Regions from separate parts of the Homo sapiens genome. Here region 1 is linked to region 2. Evidence: promoter capture Hi-C in 16 types of primary human blood cells and fetal thymus (Javierre and others, 2016). All regions are on one chromosome and are shown on one strand. The core of a region is centred on a gene start or on the middle of the fragment in contact, and the rest is flanking DNA. Distances in the headings are between cores, read along the strand shown. Region 1 overlaps OXCT1 (3-oxoacid CoA-transferase 1). Region 2 holds the start of NNT (nicotinamide nucleotide transhydrogenase).

Evidence for each region. Contacts are between HindIII fragments. The CHiCAGO score rates a contact against its expected background, and 5 or more counts as called.
Region 1: a fragment that was not itself captured here is called in contact with the fragment with the promoter of NNT in region 2 in 1 of 17 cell types (non-activated CD4 T cells); the score reaches 6.3 in non-activated CD4 T cells.

Annotation. Positions count from the first base shown.
Region 1 is chr5:41,841,199-41,843,898 of GRCh38, forward strand. OXCT1 (3-oxoacid CoA-transferase 1) reads right to left here. Exons shown (of 17, transcript NM_000436.4): 6 at 1,477-1,583. Among named protein-coding and RNA genes, the nearest start is that of OXCT1-AS1, 27 kb to the right of the region's middle. The HindIII fragment of the contact is 1,846 bases long and covers 337-2,182 here.
Region 2 is chr5:43,601,724-43,604,578 of GRCh38, forward strand. NNT (nicotinamide nucleotide transhydrogenase) reads left to right here and starts at 1,457. Exons shown (of 22, transcript NM_182977.3): 1 at 1,457-1,571. NNT-AS1 (NNT antisense RNA 1) reads right to left here and starts at 1,507. Exons shown (of 3, transcript NR_073113.1): 1 at 1,055-1,507. RefSeq lists silencers at 805-1,024, 1,288-1,377, 1,498-1,717. The HindIII fragment of the contact is 7,409 bases long and covers 1-2,855 here.

The DNA.
Region 1 (2,700 bases), core at 10-2,509, 1.8 Mb before region 2:
CTGGGAATATACGTTGATGGCAGAATTTCTTTGGTAAAAGGAAGTAAGTCACAGCTATGTTTTACTAGCTCTTTTGAGCCACCAATATTTCTTTTGCTCAGATTGAAGAATGAGTACAGGAATAGGAGCATCCTTGAGAAAGGAGCCCTCGTGAACTTTCACAAGTTGCTGGGTTAGATCCCACCAGACATCCAGGCATCAAAAGCTCCAAGGGCAGAATGGTCAGAGGCAAAGGAGTCCCAAGTCCCCCACTTGAATAACCTAGACAGACTTCTGTTCCAGCTGTCCCACTAAATATGAAGTTAATCCTAAGGTCACTTGACCATTGGTGATGCAAGCTTTCATTTCACACCCGAACTCATTAACCACCAGCATAAAGTCAGTGCCCAGAATAGCCCTTGTGCAGCCTTCAAATACCAGAGCCAGGCACTGCAGCGCAGAATAAACATGGGAATATTTTCAATAATTCCTTTCTGTTTGGTAGTATACAATTTTGTTAATCTTTTTTAAAAAGCAACTAAACGTGTAAATATTACACAAACGTGTCAAATAAGGTAAAGATGATGTAAAATTACTCCTGTTATTGCCAAAATTAGTTGTACTTTAAAAAACTGGCTAAATTAAAGAAATCAAAGAGCATTAATATCACATAAGTCCTTCAGAAATAAAAAGTGATATGAGAGTATCACTGAGAACTTAACTGTAATTGCACCAAAGCTGCATTTGCTAAAGATTTAAAAATTGTTAATCGAAAGCAGCAAATGATAAATAAGCAAAAACAATGATTTCTGTAATCTGATAGGTAAAGTCTTCAAGATCAGTTTGGAAAACTCTTAAGTGTACACTCAAAGGTTTCATATTCCTCAAAAAACAACTATATAAATCTATAAATCCAAGATATAAATACTTAGTATGCTTAGAATAACCAAAAGATTTTAAAATCTATAAAGTCTGTGGCTGAGAGGATTGAAAATTCAGTATTATAAAGGTTAATCAATTTTTCAGATAGAACCTTTGTAAGCATTTCCTAGAAGACACCAAAAGGACTGAAGGACTGACCCCAATGATTATTAGCAGTATCTTTCCAGAGTATCAAATTAGCTTTGACATTTTAAGACAATACATGTAAATTACAATATCAATTAAATAAAATTGTATGATGTCACATTTTCTAAGCATGTAACTGGTCTTGGCAACTAAAATACACAAGGAGAAAAACAACTGCATGTGCCTATATAAAAGGGCATATAGATCCAAATATTTAACAAGCAGTGCAACATAGATATCGACCAGTCTAAACAGACTCCCACAAGTGGACATACCAGCAGCCCTGCACACACCTATATATGTGCAATACACATGGGCATGTATGATTTTGGGCCATTACGAAAATACATTTTTAAATTCCAAATTCACTCTGATGTCCATTTTTAGAGTTGCTGATATGCACGAGTGTTTTTAAAACTATCACAATACCTGAAAATCACGTTTCCTGCTCGGTCCGCCTTCCAGGCTTTCACCAAAGCAAAATCCCCTGTAATTGCTTCCTCCAAAATAAAGTGCTGACCATTGAACTCCCTCACCTGCAGAAGAGGGAGAAGGCATCATCAGGTATTTGCATAGGTCTTGATTGTGATAGAGGCACTCTGATAGAGGTAGATAATAAGGATACAAGCCTACTGAGGGAAAATTTCTCAGAGGGAAAAGCATCCCAGAGACTTCAAAGATAAGCAGTGTTAGGCAAGCAGGACTTAGTCAAAGTGGTCTAAGGGGAGCTAAGGAAACAGACAAGCAAAGGTCCAGTGACAAAAGAAAATTTGTGCATTTGAGGAACTGAAAGTTCTATGGCCTGAGGGATAGACTATTTTCATTTTACTATTTGTATGTACAGGTTGTATATTGAATGTGAAAAATAGTCCTTCTTTCCCTCTCCCCTGAAAAAACAGTTTGCATAAAATGGTCTATGTATTGTTTTCCTACATAAAATAGTTACAAAAATCTATCATTCAGCTATCCTCAATAACCTATATCACCTGTTGAGATTTTAAATGGGATTCACAGAATCAGTAAATTTGGAGAAAACCAACAAGCCCTATCTTCCCACCCATGAGCATAGTATATGTCTCCATTTACTGAGGTTTTCTTCGACCTCCTTCAATAGTTTTATTATTTTCTCCATAAAAGCTTTATTTTTTTTCTTAGGTTTATTTATAGGTACTTAGTGGTTTCTCTTGCTACTGTGAATGTTACATTTGCTCCTATCTACTCTTCTGACATTACTGATCTAGGGAATGCTATTGATTTTTATTTATGTTTATTGCCTTTTAATTATACTACCAATTTTGGAGGGAAGAACATAAAGCAAAACTGTCTTGCCATCATGTTCTTTTATTCTTGACGGTTTATTTCCGGGAATTAAAACAAGCATCCATTGCCACACTCCATCACTGCACAAAATGGAGCCATGTGAATGTAGAACTCCATTCTCATCCCTACCGCACCCCCTAGTGGAAAAACAGACTAAGTGCGTTTTACAAAAAGCTGCTATAGAAAATAGAAAATTTTGGTACATTTATTTCAACTATGGTTTGAAACAAAACCTTTCTTAAATAAAGGCTACTTTAAAGACATTAACCAAGTTGCCTGCTAGAAAAAAGATTAATGCACTTAGGGAATAACTGATGAATGAGGATCTTACTA
Region 2 (2,855 bases), core at 207-2,706:
CTTCGTCGTGAGGGGCTGTGTAGTGTGAGGTGTTCAGTAATATCCCTGGCCCCAACCCATTAGATAGGTCCCCTCTCCAATTGTGACAACCAAAATGTCTCTAGACATTGCCAAATATCCCTCGGAACTAAATTGTCCCCAGTTGGGAACCACGAATTATTAATCCCTAAAAGACAAAGCAGCAACTCCTGACCCCTACAAAAAGTTTTAAATCAATAACTTAGTTTAAAATCCTTACTAAGTGGGATCATTACTAATCTCACTTCATTGTACCTTCAGTATCTGGAAACCGTCCCTATGGTCACACTTACCACGGCTCATTATTATTTTAAAACATGGGGCTGTGTCATTTCCTGTCTGTGAGTTTGGACTGCAGTGGGAATCCATTAGTTGAATGACCTTCTGTGTAGGTTAATCACAAGACAAGTTCTCAAACTAAGGGTTTCCCTGCGGCTCATTTCTTTTTAAAGTTATGGAATACCTGTTCTGCTTATACCTTTTAGATTCATAATTATTTTTCTTGTATCAAAATTTCAATTAATAGAAATAAATGACGTTACTGACACTTCATGATGATTAAGTTTTGGGCAAGTGAACCATTTTACACTCTATTTTTTATTCCTCCCACTTTTAGTCAGAATACACCTGCAGAATAAGTAACAGAACTGTGTGAAAAGAACGACTAGGTCATTACGGTTAATAGTTTTAGAAAAACAGCCGAGGCCTGGTCTGGAAAGCTCACAACCTCCACCCAGATGCTTTCCAGCCTCGGGGATATTCGTACTAGCAGTGACACTAGCCAGCTTCCTCTAGGCTGGCTCTGATGTTGGAAGACAAGCACGCAGATGTGTGTTACTTTTCAAGCCTGGACATCGTTTCTGAGGAATTTAACTCCACCTCTCCTGCCAGAATGGAAAATCAACGCCCCCCATTCCCGCCCTTCACCAACCCCTCTCCGCCTGCCCCTTTCCCTTGGGTCCTCTCTGTTACAGAAGTTCTGATTTTTCCTAGCGAGCTGGAGGAAAGGCAGGTACCCGGAGTGGAGTTATATTACCTGTTTCTTTGTTCTGATGGGACCCCAGAGAGGACATCACGCTTTGTAACTGGTTCTTCAAGGGGAGAAGCAAATGTGTCCCTGAAAACTTCAGCTGCCGCGTTTGGCACCAGGTTTGATTGACAAGGACTGGCGGAGGGAAAGCGCGGAGGCTGGGCTGGGGGCCGCAGGCCGAGGCAGAGACAAAGAGGTTTCGCCTGTCCCCGAGAGTGGAAGGGCCCCTGGGGGTAACTAGCCTTTGAGCTCAAAGGGGCATTTCGTGAGGTCGCCTTTTGGTTCGGAGAGCGCGCGGCGATCGGGTGGAGGGGGCCTGGCGGGAAGAAAGCTGGGGCGGGGAAGGGGCGCGGGCCGAGGTGGGAGCGGAGCTGCAGTCACGTGGCCGCCCGCCGCCGCGGAGTTGGGGCTGTTCTTCCGGGTTGGAGGCGCAGCGCCGCGGGGCCCAAGCCCGGGTCTGCCAGCGCGACGTCCTCTCGCGGCCCTCAGGGCACAGCCCAAGGCTGTCAGCCTCCCGGCCCAGGTGAGCGCGACGGCACTGGCGGGTGCGGGCAGCCGGGGCGCGCGCCTAGGGCGCAGCTGGGAAAGGGGCTCGGGCCTTTCCTGAAGACCACGGCCCTCGCCGGGAGAGAGACCTGTCAAAGAGCAAAGCGGGGCGGGGTCGGCGGTGTCCCGGGCGCAGGGTGCATTGGGGTGTCCGCAGGCCGCAGGCTTAGGTGGGGAAGAAGCACCGTGCCTCTTGGTGTCCCTTTCTCGTCTCCTGCTGGGGCGATGTCGAAGGGAGTGGGCTGGTGGATTTGGGAACTGGGTCCCCGAAGAGGGCAGGGAATGAGGCGGCAGCTGTGCAGGTGCAGATATTTGCAGCTTTGGGGGACAGCGAGAGTCGTACGGGGTCATTTCGGCCCTCAAGATCGGGGGTGGTGGAGAGGGAGGTCATAGAGGACTTTCGATGGGCGGTTCATCCAGAGAGGTGGCAGCTGGATGCCCTTGAGGTATGCTTGACCCTTGAGGGAGTTCGGAGAGGGTGTCCGGCTGGGGACATAGGAGATTGCGAGCACAAATTGTGAGTGTGAGTTGGGGCGGTCTGGCGGTGGTGGGTACAAGTTTCTGGGGCCTAGGCTGGTGAGGAGGAAGAGACAGCGGAGAGGGCGACCTGGGCAGAGCTAGTTCAAACTCAACAGCCGGAATGACTATTTGCAGCCGTGGCCAATCGGCTTCCTAGGGAGGTTATAAATAGCGGTCTCGTGCAGATGCCAGCGGGTGGCAGTTAGTTGCCGAGCAAGGGACGGCACCGGTGGCAGTAGCCGTGACACCAGTGGCTTTGGGTGAGGTCACGGCGCCTGCCAGCCGAAGCTGGCTCAGTAGGGTATTGTGTCCTTGCTGGTATGTCTCGCTTTTAAAAGCGTGACTTGTTTATGGTTGCCGGTGTCCTTTATTCACCCTGTGGCGCCGGCCAGTCCTTAGGTGGTCTGTTTGTCAGGAGTCTTGTAGGACAGACTTATTCGGAGAAGCGCGTGGGGCTTAGGTGCCTACCTACTCTTCTTATTTAAAGTGTGCCCCTTTTCTTCATTGCACCCCTTTTATTTGTAAACCTTGACTTTTTATTAACAGACAGTTTAGGATTGCCTTCTTTCCAGCAGGTGCGCTTAGGCTGCTTACCTTGGTGATAGAATCAGTTTTCCACAAGGCTACACAAACATTTCCTTTTCAAAGGAAATTTTCCGAAAATCCTTGGAAAATGTGCTCAATAGGTACTTAGGCTTAAGGTCACCTAGCCCTATTCATTCAGTCAAAAATACTGACTTCC